Linked DNA regions of Homo sapiens: region 1 is linked to region 2. The links are contacts of gene promoters, found by promoter capture Hi-C in blood cells and fetal thymus (Javierre and others, 2016). All regions are on one chromosome and are shown on one strand. The core of a region is centred on a gene start or on the middle of the fragment in contact, and the rest is flanking DNA. Distances in the headings are between cores, read along the strand shown.

Evidence for each region. The method cuts DNA at HindIII sites, captures the fragments that hold promoters and counts their contacts. A CHiCAGO score of 5 or more calls a contact.
Region 1: a contact is called between a fragment that was not itself captured here and the fragment with the promoter of SLC12A6 in region 2, in 1 of 17 cell types (M0 macrophages). The highest score is 5.4, in M0 macrophages.

The regions. Positions count from the first base shown.
Region 1 is chr15:33,157,419-33,164,190 of GRCh38, forward strand. The region is part of intron 3 of FMN1 (formin 1); the gene reads right to left. Among named protein-coding and RNA genes, the nearest start is that of FMN1, 34 kb to the right of the region's middle. RefSeq lists an enhancer at 5,759-5,808. The HindIII fragment of the contact is 2,451 bases long and covers 397-2,847 here.
Region 2 is chr15:34,333,408-34,339,918 of GRCh38, forward strand. It overlaps SLC12A6 (solute carrier family 12 member 6), which reads right to left and starts at 4,374. Exons shown (of 26, transcript NM_001365088.1): 1 at 3,925-4,374; 2 at 3,003-3,345. The coding sequence starts at 3,273. RefSeq lists enhancers at 762-811, 2,439-2,488, 2,549-2,618, 2,820-2,939 and a silencer at 4,229-4,788. The HindIII fragment of the contact is 4,998 bases long and covers 1,318-6,315 here.

The DNA.
Region 1 (6,772 bases), core at 372-2,871, 1.2 Mb before region 2:
ATCAGTACATCTCCATTTTACAGATGAGGAAACTGAAATTCAGAGATAAAGGAATTTGTCTAAGGGAATATGGCTCAGAATATGCAAGTTTCAAACCCAGATCTCTCTCACTACATTGCTTCATAGGTCATGTTGCTCTTCACCTACTGCCTTCTACTAACAAACTGGTTTTCCATCTAATTTGAATAGAGGAGTTTTTTTTGTTGTTTTCTGTTTTTTGTTTTTTTGTTAACTTGGTGTTACATAATTTCTTAACAATGTCTCACATCTTGCTATTTTAACGCTCACGGAGGCCAGGCGCAGCAGCTCACCCCTGTAATCCCAGCACGTTGGGAGGCCAAGGCGGGAGGTTGCTTGAGCTCAGGAATTTGAGACCAGTCTGGGGAACATAGTGAAAGCTTGTTTCCACAAAAAAAGAGAAAATTAGCTGGGAATGTGGTGCAAGCCTGTACTCCCAGCTGCTAGTGAGGCTGAGGCAAGGGGATTGCCTGGGAGGTTGAAGCTGCAGTGGACTGAGATTGCGCCACTGCACCACTGTACTCCAGCCTAAGTGACAGAGCAAGACCCTGTCTTTCAAAAAAAAAAAAAAAAAGAAAAAGAAAGAAACAAAAACCACACTCATTGGAGAGCTTCAACATGTCTGATCAGGTAAAGTGCTGCTCCCTAAGGTCATCCCTTAAACAATAAAATCTAGAAAAAGGGCACCAGGAGTTCACTACAGCTGGTATAGGCAGTAAAAACTCAATGAAGATTCTAATTTAGAAATAAAAGAAGAGAAGGACTGACATAAAGGCTATATCCTTTATGAGAATTACAGACATGTAGTGCCTGTTTACAGGATTAAGTACTTTTTTCCCCTGGTCTTTATAAGTCTTGGTTATGTAAATGGAGAAAATGTCATGGTTAGAACTCTATATGTTAGTCACAGTTGGGAAACTCAAGTCAAGGTTTAGAAAATTATAACATTGGATTTTATAGCAATAAAGCCACAATGCAAGGCATAAAGCTACTATTATAAAAAAAAAGAAAAAAAAAAAGAACTTTACACTATTGCCTCATCCACCCAGAAACTTCCATACAGAATGCTCTTACCACACTTGTGGTGCACATGTCCGGAACCAAAGAGGAGCAGAACAGAGGAAGAAAAAAGAAATGGGAGTTTGTCTCATGATCTTGGGACTACAGTTCCTTTGTTCTGGGCCCTGGGAAGCAGTATGTTGTAAGAAACTTTGTACTGAACTAGACTAAGGAGTTTCACTATCCCAGGATCCATAGGAGCCAATGAAGAATCCTAAGCTACTTACTTATACTTGTTATAAAAAGATTACTTCAGAAGTAAAGTAGAGAGTAGACAAGTAGGGGGTAAGACTAGTGGTATAAATCACTTAGAAAGGTCTTTCAGTATTCCAGAAAGAAGCGATAGCCAAAACCAAAGCAGTAGCAATGTGATGGAGAAGAGATGGTCAATTTTAAAAGATAGATTTCAGGCCAGGCATGGTGCCTCATGACTATAATCCCAGCACTTTGGGAGCCTGAGGTGGGTGGATCACTTGAGTTCAAGACCAGCCTGACCAACATGGTAAAACCCCATCTCTACTAAAAATACAGAAAAAATTAGACAGGCATGGTGGCACATGCCCGTAATCCCAGTTATTTGGGTGGCTAAGGCATAAGAATTGCTTCAACCCAGGAGATCTAGGCTGCAGTGAGCCGAGATTGTGCCACTGCACTCCAGCGTGGGTGAAAGAGTGAGACTCTGTCTCTAAATAAATAAGTAAAAATTAAATAAAAAGATAGAATTGAAAGGGTCTGGTGGTTAATTGGATATGCGTGACAGGAAAGAATTTGGTTTCATGATTTCAGATGTAGGTGACTGGGTAGATTGTGGTGCCATTCACAAAGATAAATGCACGAAGAGGAATAGGCTTCAGGGGAAGAAGATGAATTCAGTTGTGGAAATATTGAATTTGATGTATCGGGGAATAATCAAACAAATATGTCCACAACACTGCTAGATGCAAAGGGATAGAGAATGAGATTTAGGCTAAAGTTAACACATTTAGAAGGAATCATACAGTATATAAGGTGTTTCAATTCCATGTAAGATAAAGTAAGTGCACTCTATCCTAGCTCTCCCACTGAATGTAACAGAAAAAAAACACCAATATAAAATGCATGGAGCAGCTATTTGAACACTCTAAAAGTAAATGGTAACAAGCAGGTTGATGAGGAAGACCAGGCTTTGAAGTATCAACCAACTGTAAAGCAGCTAACTTTCTCAACTTTGTCCTTCAGTAGCCCCTAAGCCTGGACTCAAATGTGCCTGAAACATGGCAGTGAATATCAGCACAAACAGAGGAAGATATAGGAGGAGTCCTGTAATTCAGAATCAAGAATAGAAAGAAGTTTTCTTGTTGGCACCTAAAACTCTGAGGGAGGAGAACATTTCTCTATGATTAGAGGAACTGTAGTCCCAAGATGTATGGGGGAAAACCCTATTTCTTTTTCTCTCACTCTGTTCTGCCTCTCGTTGATTTCGGGTGTGGGCAGAGTTGCAGGAAGTTTGCAGCCAAAGAGTTGGAGGGTTAGTAGTCCTAGATTTCTAGTTAGAGGACTGAAATCAGAGCCTCAGAGAGCCCAGAAGTATGGGAAAGATTATGGAGAAGGATCTTAGAAAGTGACCCATAAAGTTGTTCATGGATACCTGAATTAACCCCAGCCTGTGGATTGTGGATCTGAACTTAAACACCATACGAAGGGCTTTGAAAAAAAATGAAGAGATAAGACAACTTCCCAGGGCCTAGGCTGGCCACTGGGTGGCACATACATGGGATGGAACACTGCAAAAGCTTTGAAAATGGAACTGACATGAAAACCACAACCCACAGGAGGCTCATTGGAACTGGAGGACTGAGCCAAACCAGGTTGACTAGCTGGTTGTTTCAACAAAAAAGGATCTTCCCTGAGCAAATGAACTTCAACCTCAACCCTCTAGAGTGTTCCATGTCAGAAGAAGGCTTTAGACCAGGGCAAACTCTTCTCTGTGACAACCCATTAGAAAGTCAGAATGCAGTATGGAATCATCACACATATTTTTCATCCAAGAAACCAGAGGAAAAAGAGCAGTAAGTCCTAAGAGAAAAAAAGCAAAAGGACAGGAAATCACTGTGCATTGGGGTTAAATACACTGGCATTGCAATTCCATGCTGAGTTCACAGGACTATTTCAAACAGCATTGCCTCATTCTACTTGGACTCAAATGCAGCGGCTCTGCAGAGGCACACACTAAATTATACATCTTAATTTGGCCTGTGAAGTGACCTGCTCTGGTTATGTTCAAGGTAAAAGCACTTTGCTTCCCAGGGAGTCTTCGTGTCTTCTATTTCCTCTGACAGGCTCCAGGCTGGCATTCTGTCTATGACAACATTGCAGCAGTGATTTCTCCCTTGATTCTTTTTCCAATAAACAAGTAGATTACCTCACTCTACCCCAAATGGAAATATCTGTTCTGCCTCATCCTAATGAGAAATGATTGCCTTTTAGTAGATGCTATCTATTGTTCATAGCATATTTCACCAATGCTAAAAATAAGATTCAAGAATTAGTTGTCGTCATTCTGTCTGCTGACGGCAGACATCCTAATTGATTTTGGCCTTAAAAGGCCAATGCAAAGCTTTCTTTGCCTAGTCATTGGCACAGTCTTTCCCTGTGACTCCATCTGAGCCCAACACGGCTAAGACAGATTACCTGTATTCCATTTCTAAACTGGAAAATTTTTATTAGTTCAGTCAAATTCACACTCTACCTTTCACACCCTCCTAAGACCAAGAGACTGACTTTTATGAACTCAATCAACAAGTTTCCTTGCCCTGTGGCTTCTACTAGATTTAGCCATTGGGAAACAGTAACAGATTGGAGGGCAGATGGAAGAGGGCTCGGGACCTTTATCCCCTGACTCCCTATCTCCTGGGCTATAGTTTGGTAGTAGGCGTGCCCTCTAATGAAGACCACGCTCCTCTGGGGTAGTTCTCCTCCAGCTGCAGCTGCTTTCTCTGAGTACCATTACTGCCCCCTCCCCTTGCTCATTTAGTCCTAGATGGCTTTGAATTCTGCCTCTCCTGTGTGATTTTGGACAAGTTATTGCCTGCCTTTCTCCTTTCCATCCACCCTGGGATGGAGTGCAGCTTTTTCAAAGAGTAGATTAAAAAAACAAAGGAAGGCTGGGCGCAGTGGCTCACGCCTGTAATCCCAGCACTTTGGGAGGCTGAGGCGGGCGGATCACAAGGTCAGGAGATCGAGACCACCCTGGCCAACACGGTGAAACCCCGTCTCCACTAAAAATACAAAATATTAGCCAGGTGTGGTGGCGAGCACCTGTAGTCCCAGCTACTCAGGAGGCTGAGGCAGGAGAATGGCGTGAACCCGGGAGGTGGAGCTTGCAATGAGACGAGATCGTGCCACTGCACTCCAGCCTGGGTGACAGAGCAAGACTCCGTCTCAAAAAACAAAAAAGAAAAAAAAAAAAAGGAAGTTCTGCAATAGGTTAATGGCTCTTCTTCTTTCCATGGAGTTTTTCTTCTCTTTGCTTTCCTTTTTGTTTTTCTTCTTTCTGAGATAGGGTCTCGCTCTGTCACCCACGCTGCAGTGCAGTGGCGTGATCTCAGCTCACTGCAACCTCCAGCTTCTGGGCCCAGGCAATTCTCCTACCTCAGCTCCTCCAAGTAGCTGGGAAAACAGGTACATGCCATCATGCCCAGATAATTTTTGTATATTTTGTAGAGACAGGGTTTTGCCATGTTGTGCAGCCTGGTCTCAAACTCCCGAGCTCAAGTGATCTGCCCACCTTAGCCTCCCAAAGTGCTGGGATTACAGGGGTGAGCCACTGAGGGGTTTTTCTTTAAACAACCTCCACACTGTAGGAGTAAGAACGTAGGAATAATAACAAAATTACTACAATACACAGCAGAAAGAGACCTATAAGGTATCAAAGAACAAATCAGAGGAGTTAAAAAAAAAAAGGAGAGTCAACATCATGTTTGTAGAATCAGAATAACACTTCAGGCAGAAGAAAGCATTTTAAAATAGCCCCTCATTAAAATATGGGCCTTGGACAGGTAGAGATTAAGAAAATGAACTTCCAAGAGGAAGAAACGTAATACAGGACTGAGAAAACAAGGATTTTAATCAGGTTGGTAGGATATTAACGCTATCTTCATAGACAAATGACTCATGAAGCCATGGATGATTTTTGACCAGGGAAGCAGTATGTTCAGCACTACTCTTAAAGATTAAGTCAAAAGTAATGTCAGAACAGATTGGAGTAGAAAGAGAACAGACAGGGAGTCAAGAATGAGGAGCTGGGGACAACATCAAATTCTGCAAAGAGGTCAAGAAAGAAACAAATTAAAGTGTTACAGGCCGGGCGTGGTGGCTCACGCCTGTAATCCCAGCACTTTGGGAGGCCAAGGCAGGCAGATCACCTGAGGTCAGGAGATTGAGACCAGCCTGGTCAACATAGTGAAACCCCATCCCTACTAAAAATACAAAAACTAGCTTGGTGTGGCTAATTAGCTGGCACCTGTAGTACCAGCTACCTAGGAAACTAAGGTGGGAGAATCGCTTGAACCCGGGAGGTGGAGGTTGCAGTGAGCCGAGATCACGCCACTGTACTCCACTCCAGCCTGGGTGACAGAGTGAGACACTGCTTCAAAAAAAAGATATGTTACAGACAGTTTTAGGTAGCAACTTTAGTAGAGTGAGAGAACACCAAACTAATTATATTACAAAGAGTAAGTGAGAATGCTAGTGGTTAAGACAAGAAAAATATGAGTAATAACCTGTACCGGTATTTGCTATTTTGGTTTCTTGTCTTGTCTTTTCTTTTTTTTTTTTTGAGACTGAGTTTCGCTCTCGTTGCCCAGGCTGGAGCGCAATGGCACAATCTCGGCTCACCGCAACCTCTGCCTTCTGGATTCAAGCGATTCTCCTGCCTCAGCCTCCCGAGTAGCTGGGATTACAGGCACGCACCACCATGCCCGGCTAATTTTGTATTTTTAGTAGAGAGGGGGTTTCTCCATGTTGGTCAGGCTAGTCTTGAACTCCTGACCTCAGGTGATCTGCTCATCTCGGCCTCCCAAAGTGCTGGGATTACAGGCGTGAGCTACCATGCCTGGCTGTTTTGTTTTGTTTTGTTTTGTTTTGTTTTGTTTTGTTTTTGAGACGGAGTTTCACTCTTGTTGCCGAGGCTGGAGTACAGTGGTGAGATCTTGGCTCACTGCAACCTCCACCTCCTGGGTTCAAGTGATTCTCCTGCCTCAGCCTCCCAAGTAGCTGGGATTACAGGCAGCCGCCATCATGCTCAACAAATTTTTGTATTTTTGGTAGAGATGGGGTTTCCTCATGTTGTCCAGGCTGGTCTCGAACTCCTGACCTCAGGTGATCCTCCCACCTCAGCCTCCCAAATTGCTGGGATTACAGGCGTAAGCCACTGCGCCTGGCCTGTTTTTGTTTTTTTTGAGACATGGAAAACAGAAGTATGTTTTCAGTTTGAAAAGAAGGAAGTAGCAAGGAAGGAGATATTGATGATACAGTGAAAAATGGTATGAAACATGGGAAAAAAGGCACCAGAGGAAGAAGACATGGGCTCAAGGACACATGGGGAGGAATCAGCCTTGACAAGAAGGAGGATGGTTTCCTACTCAAAGACTAAGGAAAAAAGATTATTATGAGATAGCACTGAAATTGAGAGAGTTTACTTATTTTCTCAATGATT
Region 2 (6,511 bases), core at 3,124-5,623:
TTTAGTAGAGACAGGGTTTCACCGTGTTCCCCAGGCTGGTCTCGGACTCCTGAGCTCAGGGAATCCACCCGCCTCGGCCTCCCAAAGTGCTAGGATTACAGGCGTGAGCCACCGTGCCTGGCTCCACTCTATTTTTGTAACTCACTTTCCAGAGGCATCCACTCTCAACAGTTTCTTTTGTATCTTTAAGGCGTTCTTCATACATAAGCTAATACACTGCTAAGATTCTTGATTTTACCAACTGGACAGTCCTATAAATTCAAATGGAGCCTTGCCAAAATGAAAGAAAAATTACTTTGATAGCAGAAAGAAAACTACTCAGAAAGCCAACAGCAGAAAAAATTAAAATATACTGAAATAAGTATTTAAAACTTCATGTAGGGCTGGGCGCTGTGGCTCACGCCTGTAATCCCAGCACTTTGGGAGGCCAAGGTGGGTGTATCTCCTGAGGTCAGGAGTTTGAGACCAGGTTGACTAACATGATGAAACCCCATCTCTACTAAATACAAAAAATTAGCCAGGTGTGGTGGTGCATGCCTGTAATCTCAGCTACTTGGGAGGCTGAGGCAAAAGAATCACTGGAACCCGGGAGACAGAGATTGCAGTGAGTGGAGATTGCGCCCTTGTACCCCAGCCTGGGCAACAAGTGTGAAACTCCATCTCAAAAAAAAAAAAAACAAAAAAAACTTCATGTGTCACCTCCTGTTTGTGTGATGTAATGTGAGTAGAAGACATATGACAAGAAACTTCGGGTGGGAAGTTTCTCTACAGGAAGAAACGTGGGAGGCATGGGGGAAAGGAGAATCATACTAATGTCACAACCACAGAAGGATGTACAAAGGGTGAAAAAATTCAGAGAACTGTAAATACTAAAATAGCAAACTAACTGTGAAATGCACTATGAGCTTAAGGAGAGTCAACTGTAGAAAGGATGCAGTTGTTATCTATATTAAAGCCAGCCTAGAGGGAAGTGTATATTAACATTAGGCCCTTTTCTTCACAACAGCACCCTTTGAAGATCTACATCTAAATCTAACAAGGGCTTTCACATACTGAGAAGTCAAGGGTGAAATAATTGTGTTTCTAAGTGGTTTCTTCTAATGGTGGGGAAAATTTATCACATGATGACAGTCATCATAAGAATTTTTTTAAATATAGAAAGAAAAAAAAAGAGAAAAGGTAGGTCACTGAGAAAGTATAAAGTTCCACGAGAATAGGGCAAAGTCCTCTCTAATGGCCAGACTATTAATTTCCCTTTCATCTGGGTACCGGAGAATATTTAAACATTAAGTAAGGAATGTGTTATATAGAGAACCAAGCTTTTAACATCTGTAACCACGTAAACAAACATAAATTTCACTTAGATATGTCCCCATTTTTACCCCTGTAGTCCCATTTTTACCCCTATAGTGTAAAAGGATACCACTTTAGACTGTAAAGAATGCTTAAGGGTAACGTAAGAACCGCAGACTGGACAAGGAACCTGTTCTGCTGGTCTAACACATTACTAAGTCCACTTTTCCAAAGAATAAAAATACAATTCTGTAACATGTAAGTCACAAGTCTAACAAACTAAACTATAAATTACCTAATGATAATTACAATATTAAGAAATTAACACTGGTATAGTCTTTACCTGGAATTTTTACAACCTAAATACAGCATGATGGATAAAAACTAAAACCACAATTTGGAATTAATTTGGAGGAAGAGGAAATGATAAATTTGTATTCCATACTGTAATTTTAATCCAGTGTATGACACACTGTAAAATTTGTCAAAAAGTTGAAAACAGTAAAGTCTGAGAACCAACCTATGTCTCCATAAAAGAAAAAATGATTAGTCAAGGATGAGTGAATTCTAGGACTGTAAACTTTACCAAATCTACCTTGTCTCCAGATACTAAAAACACAAACAGAATTAGGGAACTAAAATCATTCTGGTTTCCTGAACCCTTTAGGTTAAAAGGAACAATATTTCCTGACACCGGAAAATGGTGAGTAAGCCTTGCTTTCACAAGTCAGTGGGTGAGGCTATGGTTTTCAAACTTGGGTGGAATATTATTTTAAGAGTCTTTAAGGGAAATTTTTATCATTAAAAGATTACATTAGTTACAACACAGCATAAAACTAAATATATAAAGCAGTACAGGTCTCAAACTTTTAAATTTCAGAGTCCAAAAAATGTTATGATCTCCCCATTTTCTCTCTTCTCTCTCTTCCATCACCTCTTCCCAGTACCTCAAATAAAACCAAGCCAGCTGACACACACAAACTGGTTTAGGAAGCTAAAGGTCTGTAGCAGTCAACATGAGCCAGGAGTGGCTTGTGTGCTACCTGCTAACTCTAATCATCAGACTTTCCATCTAAAGCTCAGAGAGAATAAATTACATGGGAATCAGGCCCTAAAAGCCTTTTCAGAAGTCTTCCATTTGACAGAATAGCACATTAGGTCTACCCACCATCACCCTGAGTGGGCTTAGCTACTTGTGTCAAGGTCTCCATAAAAATACAGATTTCAAAAAAGAATTTTGCAATACACATTCGAAGTCTTGGAGGAAAGCTGCTAAGATACGACCAGTAACTACTCCATGAAACCAGTCTTAAAGCAGACTGAAATAGCCAATGATGGCTACAGAACACATATCCAACTCACTAAATTTTAAAATTTAGGATTCTGTGTGCTGAAAACGATTACATTCTTTGATATTCACTTTTAACCAAAATACCCATTTCATTTCTAAGAAGACAAAAATGAGGAAGTTAAAATATACATTTGCCTTCCTTCTTGTCATACACCTTCCCACATACCAAATTACTACTGCAAAGAGCCACTATGCTATTATTCCAAAGAGTTCCTAAGCATCTCACAAAGAGATGCCTTGGTTCCTGATGACTATTATAATCATAATTATATGATTATGATCTTCCAGATCCATAGATGGTCATCTTGGATAAAGAACCCAGTAATGAAAGTATGCTGCGGTCTGTGTTTCTACTTACCCTCGATGACATCCTGGGGGTGAGAAGTCCGGTCACTGGGTGGATCCAGTGCAACAGTTGCCAGCGAAGTGGTGGCCCCAGACATCTCACTCATAGGCTCACTCCGGCTTGTTTCAGGCACGCTTTCCCGGGAGCTAAATCTTACTCGGGAACTAGATCGAGAGCTGAGGTCCGGACTGGTGTCTGACAAACCTGGAATGTCATCGATCTTTGTCGGTGTCACCATGAACCGAACTGAAGCCATCTTGGTGGTGGTTTCTGGAGGATGCATTTTGTTCTTTTTAAGAACAAAAAAAGTGGGGGGAACCTCGCAAAATCTTCCTCTTACGCTAGCTACTTTTGACTGCAATACAAAAGATAACTTGAAAAATAACACATTTCAATAACCTTGATTCACACCACACAAAAAGCCCCAACTAAGAATACTTCTACTCAGAATTCAAGCCGACTGTCCTAGAAAGTGCATCACCAATAGGTGAATATATTTTTTAAGAGAGAAAAAAACAAAAAACAAAAAGACAAAACAATGCCAATCTTGTGTGACTTCTTTCCTTCAGAATGAAGAGCTACCTAGCTAACCCCTCTGGTCCGGGGCTGAAGGCTCAGTGCCATGGTCTCAGGGCAGCAGATGAAGCCTCCCTCCCCTCAGCCCCCAGTTTCCTGTCGAGGTAGTCCTTTATCTGGTGAGTGTCCCACGGTTCTAGTTGGGCGAAGTGCGTGCAGGCAAACCTTTATCAGGCGACTATAGCGTGGATCAGATTGCTAAAAGGTGTACACCCGGCCACCTGTTGTGTATCAGGTGAATACCCCACAGGTCTGGCTGGGGGGAGGTGTATGCAAAGCCACCCGGTGTTTTTGATGTCGACAATCCACTTGGGTCTGGTGGGAAAGGTGCACATGCATAACGGGAAAAATAACCCACACTACTGAGAGAAGGGTGAGCAGAGGAGGATGCAGGGGCAGAGCGGATTCCTGTCTCCGAGAGGTCGGTGGGGGTGGCGCGCCCGCTCTTCTCCTAGCAGAAAGGTCCTCGGGGTCTGGGAGGAGGTTAGCGGATCAAGACACCTCGGACTGCAGCTCAGAGTCGTGGCAAGTCGTAGCTAGTCCACTGAGCCACGGTCCGCTCGCTAGGTTTCTCCTGCGTGTGACAGGACGAGCCACCCCCTTTGCCGGAGGCGCGTTCTCCCCTACCCCCGCCCCGGCGCAGGTCACCCCCTCGTCGTTCTTCCTCAGGGTCCCAGTAGAGGAGGAGACGGCCACGCAGGCTGGCCTGACTGGGCAGCAGGGTGAGGGAGAAGGAGGTCGCAGGTGCAGTATCCCGGCGCCAGCTGATGCGGGTGCGCGCGCAGCTGTTGTTTACTAGCCGGTAACTGTTTCAGAGCCGCGGCGCGCGCAGGGTTCGCGCTGCCGGGGCTGGCGCCCCCTCCCCGGCCCGACGCCAGAGCAGCAGTTACGTGACCTGGCCTCCCCCAGCCCCGGGCCCGACGGGGTGCGCCCGCGCCGCCGCAGCCCTTCCCTTCCCTCCCCGCTTGTTCCTCATTCGAGGTGAACCTTGCGAAGAGAAGCCCGGGGGTGCAGTGAGAGGGCGGAACCGTCCCGCGGGCGCCCGAAAGCCCCGCCCAGCCGCCGCAGCCCGCGGTGACCGAGTGCAGCGCGCCTGCGCTCGCCGCGGGACACGGCAGGCGGGGCGGGGCCGAATACGAGTGGCCAGGGGCACGACGGGAGCTGTAGTCCAGGGCACGGCCCGACCCGCGTGAAGAGGGGAATAATCCTTTTCCTCGGTCCGGCTGTGCTGCACACTCACTCTGGAAGCATCCTAGAGGGCGGGCGCTGCTCCTCACCCTCAGAACCCGGGGAGCCATTTCTCTTTCATGAGTGTCTCTGAAAACATCATTCATGATTTCTTTAACCAGAAACACCGCTCCTATACCTGGGAATAACCCTCATTGTAATTTTTATGTAGAGGTCTACATACAAATAAACCACTTTTATGTAAAAAAAAAAAATTAAAACTATAAAGTAGGCCTGGCGCGGTGGTTCACGACTGTAATCCTAGCACTTTGGGAGGCTGAGGCGGGCGTGATCGATCACCTGAGCTCAGGAGTTCCAGACCAGCCTGGCCAGCATAGCGAAACCCCGTCTCTACCAAAAATTCAAAAATTAGCCGGGCGTGGTGGCGTGTGCCTGTAATCCCAGCTATTCCTTAGACTGAGGCAGGAGAATCGCTTGAGCTTGGGAGGCGGAGGTTGCAGTGAGCCGAGAACGCACCATTGCATTCCAGCCTGGGGGGACAAGAGCAAAACTCCGTCTCAAAGAAATAAATAAATAAAAATAAAACTATAAAGTACCTTAAACACATTTGTCCTACTTTAATTTTTTGTTGTTGTTCTTGTCCTTTTAATAAATGCTATGTCCACTTTCTAGTCAGACTGAAAGTTCCACTAAATAATACGTTTTTTTATACCTGGAGAAGACGTTGATGTATTTTCTCAAATCCATTCCATGTTTTCACCACTACATTTGTCGCTAGAATATTTTTTCTTAGTGTTTATTTAATGTATAAATGGTGGTGTTCGATAAATTCTGACTCACCAATGTTTTGTTTGAAAAGCTATTTCCTATAGCTGTGATCAAGACCTCTAAATTTAACAATCACCTGGGCCCAGAAACTGGCCCCCGGTTTTGCCTGGGGTCTTGGCTCCTCACAAGTGGTTATGTTTAAGCAGCACTCCTAGCAATGGGAACTGTATTCCCGGAAGTTCTCTTTTATCAAATGACACACAAAGTCCAAATCCTTTCAAGGATTAAAGGATCAAAAAGGTTAAAAAGATCCTGGTAACAAAATGAGAAATCCTAATGTAAAGTGTAAACCTCCTAAAGTTTGACTCTTTATAAAGTCTGGGTTTCTTGATTCAGGCCCACAGCTTTCATCCATCCTCAGCAGGATCAATTTTTTCCTCAGGCAGGCCTGCCGTTCATTCAAACTTCAGACTTTTCCTTTATAAAGAAACACAGAATTTTTATGAAACCCAATTTCCTACCAGTGTATCTGCATTTACTTATATGTACCACCTAATTCCAATATACTATCCCTGTTAAGACTTTTCTTGTTTCTGAGCACTAACCAAGCTCTATAAATGTATGTCTCAGACGTTAATACCCCAGGGATCTCTTTATTTTCTCAGGGAGACACAGCCTCTGGTGCAAAATGAAGCCTCATTCCTCAGGGGATCTCTTATGGAAAAAGTCCTTTTTATATTCATGCCAGTTTGCTTTCTCTCCTCTATATTCATTAGGAATATTTTCAGGTTAAAGCTTTTAAGTCTACACAGGTGGTAGCATGGAGCAATGCTAATTCTTTTTTTTTTTTCTTTTTTGTAAGATAAAGGCAGAACTGCAGCCAACATTAAAAAACTGGTAGCAAAATTCACTTACTGACTTTGGTGCTTAAGAAACATGTCTCCAATCATTATCCCCTTAATTGGATAAGATAACTTTTAAAAATCTTT